2 separate regions of the Homo sapiens genome follow, and region 2 is linked to region 1. The links are contacts of gene promoters, found by promoter capture Hi-C in blood cells and fetal thymus (Javierre and others, 2016). All regions are on one chromosome and are shown on one strand. The core of a region is centred on a gene start or on the middle of the fragment in contact, and the rest is flanking DNA. Distances in the headings are between cores, read along the strand shown. Region 1 holds the start of ABHD12B (abhydrolase domain containing 12B). Region 2 has its middle 8.1 kb from the start of TMX1.

Region 1 (4,558 bases), core at 846-3,345:
GGTGCCCAATGTGGTACCTGGTACCTAAAAGGTGCTCAGTAAATGGGTGCTGAATAAATGAATGCATATTTTGTTTTTCAGGTTCTATCAAATCATATGGGAGACTTTGTTCCCTGATTTCCAGGATGTGCCATTTGAAAGGGGCTATTTATACTGGGAAAGACCTTCTTGCAGAGTCTTATGCAACCTTTCAAAAAATGGGCCATAGTGATTTCCAATTTCAGAGATTTTTGCTGAGCATTTCAAACATATCCCTAGACTTGGGGCTTACAACTTTGTTCATCCAGCAAGTAGATGGAAATATCCTCTCTCAACCTGAGCAAGTAGATGGAAATAGACTCTGGGACCATATGCAGCTGTTCTTCTCTCCTCCAAGCTCTCCTCCCCATCTTTGATCCCTCCATCTCCACTTGGCATGGCCCCAGAGTCCCATCCAGAGCTTCCCTGAACAAGTTCTGGGAGATTCCAGACCACGTTTATGAAGAACTCCAAGGGTAGAGCCGACATCTGCTTGAAGCTTTCTCATCATGCAGGTTGTGGCTCTGTGAAAACCCACCTGCTGCTGGCTCATCAGTCAGGCTTGGATCCCATTGGTCCTTTCTGAGCTAATTCCTCTTCTATCTTGATGTGTGTGAATCAGAAACTGAACATTCCAGCCAGGTGTGGTGACAGAGACCTGTAATCCCAGCACTTTGGGAGGCCGAAGTGGGAGAATTGCTTGAGGCCAGGAGTTTGATAGCAGCCTGGGCAACATAGTGAGATCTCATCTCTATACACACAAGCGTGCGTGCGCGCGCGCACCAGGCATAGTGGTGCATGCTTGTAGTCCCAGCTACTTGGGAGGCTGGAGTGGAAGGATTGCTTGAGTCCAGGAGTTCAAGTGAGTTCAAGTACAGTGAGCTATGATTGCACCACTGCACTCCAGCCTCAGTGACAGGGTAAGACCATGACAAGAAAGAAAGAAAGAAAGAAAGAAAGAAAGAAAGAAAGAAAGAAAGAAAGAAAGAAAGAAAGAAAGAAAGAAAGAGAAAGAAAGAAAGAAAGAAAGAAAGAAAGAAAGAAAGAAAGAAAGGAAGGAAGGAAAGAGAAAGAAACAAAGAAAACAAACATTCCCAGAGCAAGTATAAGAGTATTAACAGGCAGTGAACAAAATCCCCCTTTGCCCTGACAGTTCCATGAAATGAGCTAGTACTCAAAGAAAACTTCCCTTTCTTGAAAAGTGTGGGTATTTTCCCCCAGACCATCTTACTATCCTCAAGCAGATGGGTTTCCACGCACTTTCTGGTGCTGACAGCCCCCTGCTGTGCCCTCTGAACACAGACACTACAAAAAACCCATTTCACCTCTTAAGATTTGCACCTTGCCTCCAAGATGAAGCCTTGATGCTGGCATCCGAATGTATCCAAATAAAACCTAATTCCCTTTCTTCCTCCTTTGTCCCCACACATGCAGGCCGTGGCTTCCCTAGAGTAGCTCTGGTAGACAGTTCCTGCTCCTAGGAGACAGTTGCACAATGTAAACCTGCACCAAGATGTAAACCTGTACCAAGGTCAAAGTTTCAAGGTGTGAACTCCTTGGTACAATGATGAGGTTCTGCTACATGCTGCTACGTAAACAAAATACCGAAAAGGTCTTAATTTTTTGCTACATGGAGTAATTGTGTTCATAACCCCACGTGGACAGACAAATCATTAGTAAATCAAAGGGAGCCAAAGAAATTCTTTCTATAGTAAGGGTGACAGGGTGGGGGGCTGTGAGGATTTTGGGGGTGGATGGGGAATTGGAGACAAGGAGGCTTCAGAAAAAGAGAAAAAGAAAAAAGTGAGGTTTAAGTAGAGGAAAGCTTATATTCTTCATGAAAATCAAAAGCTGTGGCGGTCAAACTTTTGTGTTAGTAGTACCATGGTGAAAACATATTTTACTGCGTTGCGCGCGCCTCACACCCACACACACACAGAAGTATAATGGAAATCAATTTAAAATAAAATGTAGCATAGCTAGCTATAAGCTTAGGACATCTGTGTGTGTGTGTGTGGCCGCGAACAGCCTGACCCGGGCGGAGCGCACCCTCGGGCCGCGTCTCCCCCGCCGTACCAGCCTGCCTGACCGCGCGGAGGAGGAGGGCGGGCGCGGTGCCGCCGGGGCGGGAAGGTCGCGGGCGGCTGCTCCGGACTGCAGCTCCCGCGGCGGTGGCGGCGTATCGGGACACGGCGCGGGATGGACGCGCAGGACTGCCAGGCGGCCGCATCGCCCGAGCCGCCCGGGCCCCCAGCCCGTAGCTGCGTGGCCGCCTGGTGGGACATGGTCGACCGCAACCTGCGGTGAGTACCGCCCGGTCCACCCCTGGCCGGGCCCCGACGGCTCAGGCTGCGCGGGGATGGGGCAGGGGGCCAGGGCGCGGCCGAGGCCGCAATCCCCTCTGCTGGCCCGGGCCCAAGGCCCAGCATTGTGGCTTCCGGGGGACCTCGGCGGCCCCCTGAGAACTCTAGGGCTCTTTGGTTGCCCTTGCTATCCTCAGCCTCAATCCCAACCTGGACCAGCGAGACTCTCAGGTTTGGTATTTCAGGAAGTTATAACTTTTGGGGGCTTCTGAAATACAGATGCCAGGGAGATGGTTGAATTCCTACACCAATCTCTATTATCTGACCATTTTGCTAACATACAAGATGGATCTGAATGACATTAGTAATAGTGACAATAGTAATATATGTTGTAATCTTGGACGGGATCCTCTTAGGTCAAGGGCCTATCTGTGTAGGTGGAAAAGAATCAGAAAATCCGTGCCTAGTTCCCTGAGTGTGAACTCCCTGGCATGTATTTAAAGAAAACACCTCCAGTATGCTAAAGATGTACATAGTGTGTTGAAACCATAACTTGGCATTACCTGTGCCAAGTTCTTATGTTGTTTAAGTCTGAAATGTATCAGTGGGTGTTTCGGGTTTTGTTTCTGTTTTCTTCCTCCCATGGATCCTCGGTTTAAACAGTAATCTTAAATTACCTGAATCCACCTGCAACATATTGTCAGTCTTGTTTGCACTGAAGCCAGGTATTGGTTGGAGATCGTGGACCCAGGACACGTGGGTATTTCATTTAGTTTTGTTGGTGTGGGAAGGTATTGGCATTTTTACTTCCCTCTTTCTATTCCTTTTGTTTAATTTGTGCTGATTAGAAAATATCCAAAAATTACATCCAGACACAGGAGACCTCACTTTGGAGTGCCCAGAGTGATGATGACAAACGGGGATCTTTTCTCTCTCTCTCTCTCTTTTTTTTTTCTTTTTTGAGACAAGGGTTTCACTCTGTTGCCCAGGCTGGAGTGCAGTGGCACAATCTTGGCTCATTCCCAGGGCTCCAGCGATCCTCCCGTCTCAGCCTCCCCAGTAGCTGGGACTACAGGCACCTGCCACCACACTGAGCTGATTTTTGTATTTTGTGTAGATATGGGTTTTCACTACATTGTTCAGGTTGGTCTCAAACTCCTGGAGCTCACAGATTCCACCTGCCTTGGCACCCCAAAGTGTTGGGATTACAGGTGTGAGCCACTGCACCTGGTCTCTTTTCTCTTCTATTCCTTTTTATTCTCATTGCAGACAGCAGAGTGCTGGCAGCTCTGCAGGGGCCCAGTCACCTAGAACCCATGCCTCCCAGCTCTGGGTTGGATCTGAACACGTGGCAGAATGTCCTGATTGCACTTGTCAAACTGCATATTAACAGGACTTCTCTCCCAGATGTGGTGATTCTGGGAACGTTGACATCTAATGTTTTTCACTTTGATGGTCTCTGTGGAATTGATGGCTGATTATTTAACATTTATTTGGCAGTAAAGGGCATTTATTAGGCAGAGAATCAAAGTTGCACATCATACTCATAGAGAATAACCCACTTTGTTGATAATGGAGTGGGAGATAGGGAGTTGGGGACCATCTATTACTTGCCTTACTAATTAGTGAAAAAAGTCTCAAGAGACACTTCCTGAAAGAACAAAATACTAGCGTATGTCTTCATCTGAGCAGAAGATTATTGGCTACCATAAGATGTGCTGAGGCTGAGGCCCAGACCCATTTCCACTATCCCAAGTCCTCTTTGATTCTTGGAGCCGGGTTCACTTAGGTGAGCAAACCTTCATGGAGGGCTTGCCATGCCCCTGGCCCTGATCATGGCACTGGAACTAGTGGGATGTGTTGTGAGACCCAAGAACATTTCATCATATGATTTTTTCAGTGGCTATTTTTTAATGCCTTGGGAATCTAGTTATTTATTTTACAAAAATTTTTATCAAATCCAGTTGCTGCTTAAGGTGGGTGGGCCAAGGAGAGTAAGTCTCCACTTTACAACTGGTTTTCTTTAAATTAGAAAAATGAGGCCAGGCATTGTGGCTCACATCTGTAATCCCAGCACTTTGGGAAGCCAAGGCGGGCAGATCATGAGGTCAGGAGATGGAGACCATCCTGGCTAACACAGTGAAACCCTGTCTCTACTAAAAATACAAAAAATTAGCCAGGCGTGGTGGCACATGCCCGTAGTCCCAGCTACTCCGGAGGCTGAGGCAGGAGAATTG
Region 2 (4,558 bases), core at 533-3,032, 360 kb after region 1:
CAGTTCATTCCATGTGATGAAGTACCTAGAGTAGGGTTCCAGAATGTAGGAACTTTTTTTTTAAATTTGAGACAGGGTCTCACTCTGTCATCCAGATTGGAATGCAGTGGCACGATCTCGGCTCACTGCAACCTCTGCCTCCCAGGCTCAAGTGATTCTCCTGCCTCAGCCTCCCGAGTAGCTGGGATAACAGGCACACACCACTACCGCCCAGCTAATTTTTGTATTTTTAGTAGAGATGGGGTTTCACTATGTTGGCCAGGCTGGTCTTGAACTCCTGACCTCAAATGATTCGCCTGCCTCAGCCTCCCAAAGTGCTGGGATTACAGGCATGAGCCACCGTGCCTGGCCTGTATGAACCATATTTCTAATTCTTAAAATATATTGCCAAATTATTTCCAAAAGTGCTGTTCTGATTTATCAGGCTAATAGTCATGTTTTGTTTGATGACTAGTGTTCCAAGTATCGGTTACCTTCTAAATTTTAAAAACTTAAAAGGTAAAAGAAATCTATACTTTCCATTTACGTTTATGTTATAAATATACAGAAAAATTTCATTACATTGACTTTATATATGTATGTATATATGACTTAATATATGTGTCTGTGTGTCTGTGTGTGTATACATACAGAGACATTGATGTCTGTTGAGTTAAGCACATAGAACTTCTATGTTTTTATGTAATCTTGGTGTCTCTAACTCTTTGGGCTATAGATTTAATTAGCCTGCAGAATCTGGTAATACCAATGACCTATAGGTACTGAAGAAACAATGATAAACATGATAGACACAGTTCATAATCTGGAGTCACAATCCTGTGGGGGAGACACAAGTAAGTAGGCAAATACAATACAGTATACTAAATGTGAAGTTAGAAGTTCAGGGTTCAGAGAGTGTACCAGGGAAGACATCATACCCAAACTAATTGGCTTAGGAAAGACTTTCTGAAGAAAGGGATACATAGGTAAAATCTGAAGATTGAATAGTTATGTGGCAATGAAGCAGGGCAGTTGGGGAATGAGGGGAGCAGTATACCTTCCACAAAAACCTAGAAGAGAAAATATAGCTTGGTCAAGGTACTGTAAGAAACCTAGTATGACTTTATCAGACAGTACAAAAGAGGTCAAAAACTGAGGCTTGGTCATTAGAAAAGGCCAGATACAGTATGATTTTGGAGACTATATTAAGAAAGTTGAACTTTATGCTAAGGATAATAGAAAGCATGTTACCTAGCCATTAAACAGTTTTAAGTAGGGGATGACATGGTCAGCCTTGTGTTTCAGGAATACCACTTTGGTTTTAGACAGGAAAATATACTTGGTGAGCTGGGAGGATGCAAGTATAAAAGCATTGAGACTAGTTAAGAACCTTGCATGTTGTAATAATCCACATGAGACAAGATGATGGCTTGGGTTGGGCTTCCAGATGGCAGTGTAGACCCATCCCAGCAAAACAAGCATAATTGGTTGTATGAGTTTGCTGGGGCTGCCATAACAAAGTACCAAAAACTGGGTGGCTTAAACAACAGAAATTTGCTTTCTCATAGTTCTGAAGGCTAGAAGTTTGAAATCAAGATTTTGACAGGGTTGGTTTCTTCTGTGGTGTTTCTTTTTGGCTTGTAGATGGCAATCTTCTCCTTGTGTCTTCACATGGTCTTCCCTCTGTACTGTACAAGTCTGTTTTCTAATTTCCTCTTCTTACAAGGATACCAGTCATTCTGGATTAGGGCTCACCCTAATGACCTCATTTTAACTTACTTGACTCTTTACAGACCCTATCTCAAAATACAGTTACACTATGAGTTACTAGAGGTTAGGACTTCAACACATGAATTTGGAGGGGGCACACAACTTCATCCCATAATACTGTTGAAAACTATAAAAACAAAAACAACCATCTAAAGTCTGTGGAAATTGTCCTAAGGGCATACAGCAAATGAAGAAGCATTCTTTTTTTTCAAGAAAATCCACTAAAACTGAGTAAGAACAGTAACAGTCTATGGCGTCTGAGCCATACACTCGATTCCTACCCATCTTCCTCACCCCCTGAGCTCATCTTGGTCAAAACTCTACTCTGGGTGAGTGTGACCAAGAACATAGGGCTCCCTGTCTCCTCAACTCTCAATCAAGAGAGGCAATATCTCACCAGGAGGAAAAGGCCACCAGCATTTTTCATCCATTCCAACTCTGAGTTGCAAAGGCTAAATTCCTGGTAAGTGTGGCCCCATACAGGGGACAAAAGTTCTATGCCAGGTGCAGCAGAGTGAGAACACTGGGAACTCCAATCACCCTTAACCCAGCTTGCTCATATGGCAGAGGTTCCACTTCAGAAGCAAGTCAAGAAGATCAGAGCCTCCTGTTCTACCCAGTGCCCAGAATAATAACTAAGCAATTTTGCCCATGAGTAGACGCAGCCCATAAAAACAGAGAGCCCTGAAGCTCTCCCCAGAGGACTTACCTTTATTTGAAACAGAGTGTGGGTGATGGTCAAGCCTCGGGTTGCTCTAAAAAAAACAATAGTTTCCTGTAATAAAAAGCAACAAGCTAAACCATAAGCTAGCTAGTTTACCAGAGAGAACCAGGGAAGGAGACAACTAAGAAGAGCCCTCTTGAGGTTAGAGGAAACCTCCAAGACTGGCCTCAAAAACTACCAATGCCTGAATTTTATTGGATTAGACTGTGGAGCAATTTATGCCCCAGGGGGTATCTTCTTAAACAGAGAAATCATCCTACACTTAGTGTAGCACAACAGCTAGAGGTAACACCAAACGAGACAGAAAGTTTAACAGAGAGATCAAGGAAAGAGACAGTCAAAGAGAGCCTTGCTAGAACCACTGATATCCCCTGGTGACGGTGCACATGTCCAAGGCTGCACTCTCTGAGAAATGGGAGCAGAGGCCTTCCGCTACTGGAGAAATAGACTTCACCAAAATAGCCTAGCCAAGTCACTAAACAAACCACAATCAAATAAAAACAAAAGACAAGTCCAAACCATATAGAGGGAATCAGTACTCAGAATTGCTATAATGTATTACCTAAAATGTCCAGTTTTCAATGAAAAAATTGTCATGCAGCGAAATAGCAAAGTATGACCCATAGATCAGAGAAAAAAGTAGGCAACAGAAACTACCTGTGACAGAGCCAAAATGTCAGATTTAACAAAGATATCAAAGCATTCATTATAAACATATTCAACAAACTTAAATAAATCGTGCTTAAAGAACTTAAAGGAAGGTATGATGACAATGTTGCATCGAAAAGAGAATATCAATAAATAGAAATTATTTTTAAGAAGCACCAAATGGAATGTCTAGAGTTAAAAAGTACAATAACTGTAATAAAAAAAATCACTACAGGCGCTCACCAGTAATTTGGAGGCAGAAGAAAGAATCTGTAAACTTGAGATAGATTCACAGAGATTATGCAATCAGAAGAACGGAAGAAAAAAGAATAAAGAAAAATGAGCAATAAATGTGGGACACCATTTAGTTTACCAACATATGCTTAACGAGATTACCAGAAGGAAAGGAGGGAGAAAGGAGCAAAAAATACATGGATTTGAAGAAATAATGACTGAAACCTTCATATTTTCCAGAAAACATTAATCTAAATGTACAAGAAGTTCAACAAATGCCAATAGGACAAATGCAAAGAGCTCCACACCCAGATACATCATAGTAAAAATGCTAACAAAGACAAAAAAAAAACTTGAATGCAGCCACAGAAAAACAACTTGTCACGTACAAGTGAACCTTGATAAGATTATTAGATACCTCTCATCAGAAATAATGGAGATCAGAAGACAGTGGATGACATATTCAAAGCACTGGAAGAAAAAACTATACACCAAATATCTTATATAGAACAAAACCATCTTTCAAAAATGAAGGTTAAATGAAGACATTCCCAGATAAACATAAACTGAGAAAAGTGGTTGCAAACAGATCTTCCTTATAAGAAATACTAAAGGAAGCTTCTCAAGTTAAAAGCAAGTGTGCCTAGATGGTAATTTAAAGCCACAAGAAAAACAAAGAGAATGGGCAAAGGTGATTATGTAATTATAAAAGGCAGTATAAATGTATATTTATTTTCCTTTTGTCTCTTAGCTGATTTAAAAAACAATTGTATAAAACAATTTTTTACAATTGCATTGTTAGGCCTATAACATACAGAAATGTAATATAATTAACAACAACAGCATAAAGATGGTGGGTGGGAGCAAAGTTGTATTGGAGGAAGGAAATTATACCAGATGATAATTTAAATCCACAGGAACAAATGAAGATAACCAAAAATGATAATATGAATATTAATATAATAAACACTAAATATATACTTGTTCTTGTTTCTTTCCTCAGCTTCTTTATTAAACATAAAAGTACATAAATTAATAATTATAACAATATATTACTGAATTTATAACATAGATACAATATATAACAATAACACAAAAAGTAGAAAGAGTAAACAGTTACATAGGAGTAATGTTTCTGTATCCCACTAGAATTAAGTTAGTATAAATCTGAAGTAGATTCTGATAAATTAATATATATAGTAA

Evidence for each region. The method cuts DNA at HindIII sites, captures the fragments that hold promoters and counts their contacts. A CHiCAGO score of 5 or more calls a contact.
Region 2: a fragment that was not itself captured here is called in contact with the fragment with the promoter of ABHD12B in region 1 in 1 of 17 cell types (M0 macrophages); the score reaches 6.0 in M0 macrophages.

Annotation. Positions count from the first base shown.
Region 1 is chr14:50,869,958-50,874,515 of GRCh38, forward strand. It overlaps ABHD12B (abhydrolase domain containing 12B), which reads left to right and starts at 2,096. Exons shown (of 13, transcript NM_001206673.2): 1 at 2,096-2,321. The coding sequence starts at 2,218. The HindIII fragment of the contact is 8,761 bases long and covers 2,007-4,558 here.
Region 2 is chr14:51,229,844-51,234,401 of GRCh38, forward strand. No RefSeq gene overlaps it. Among named protein-coding and RNA genes, the nearest start is that of TMX1, 8.1 kb to the right of the region's middle. The HindIII fragment of the contact is 4,378 bases long and covers 1-3,971 here.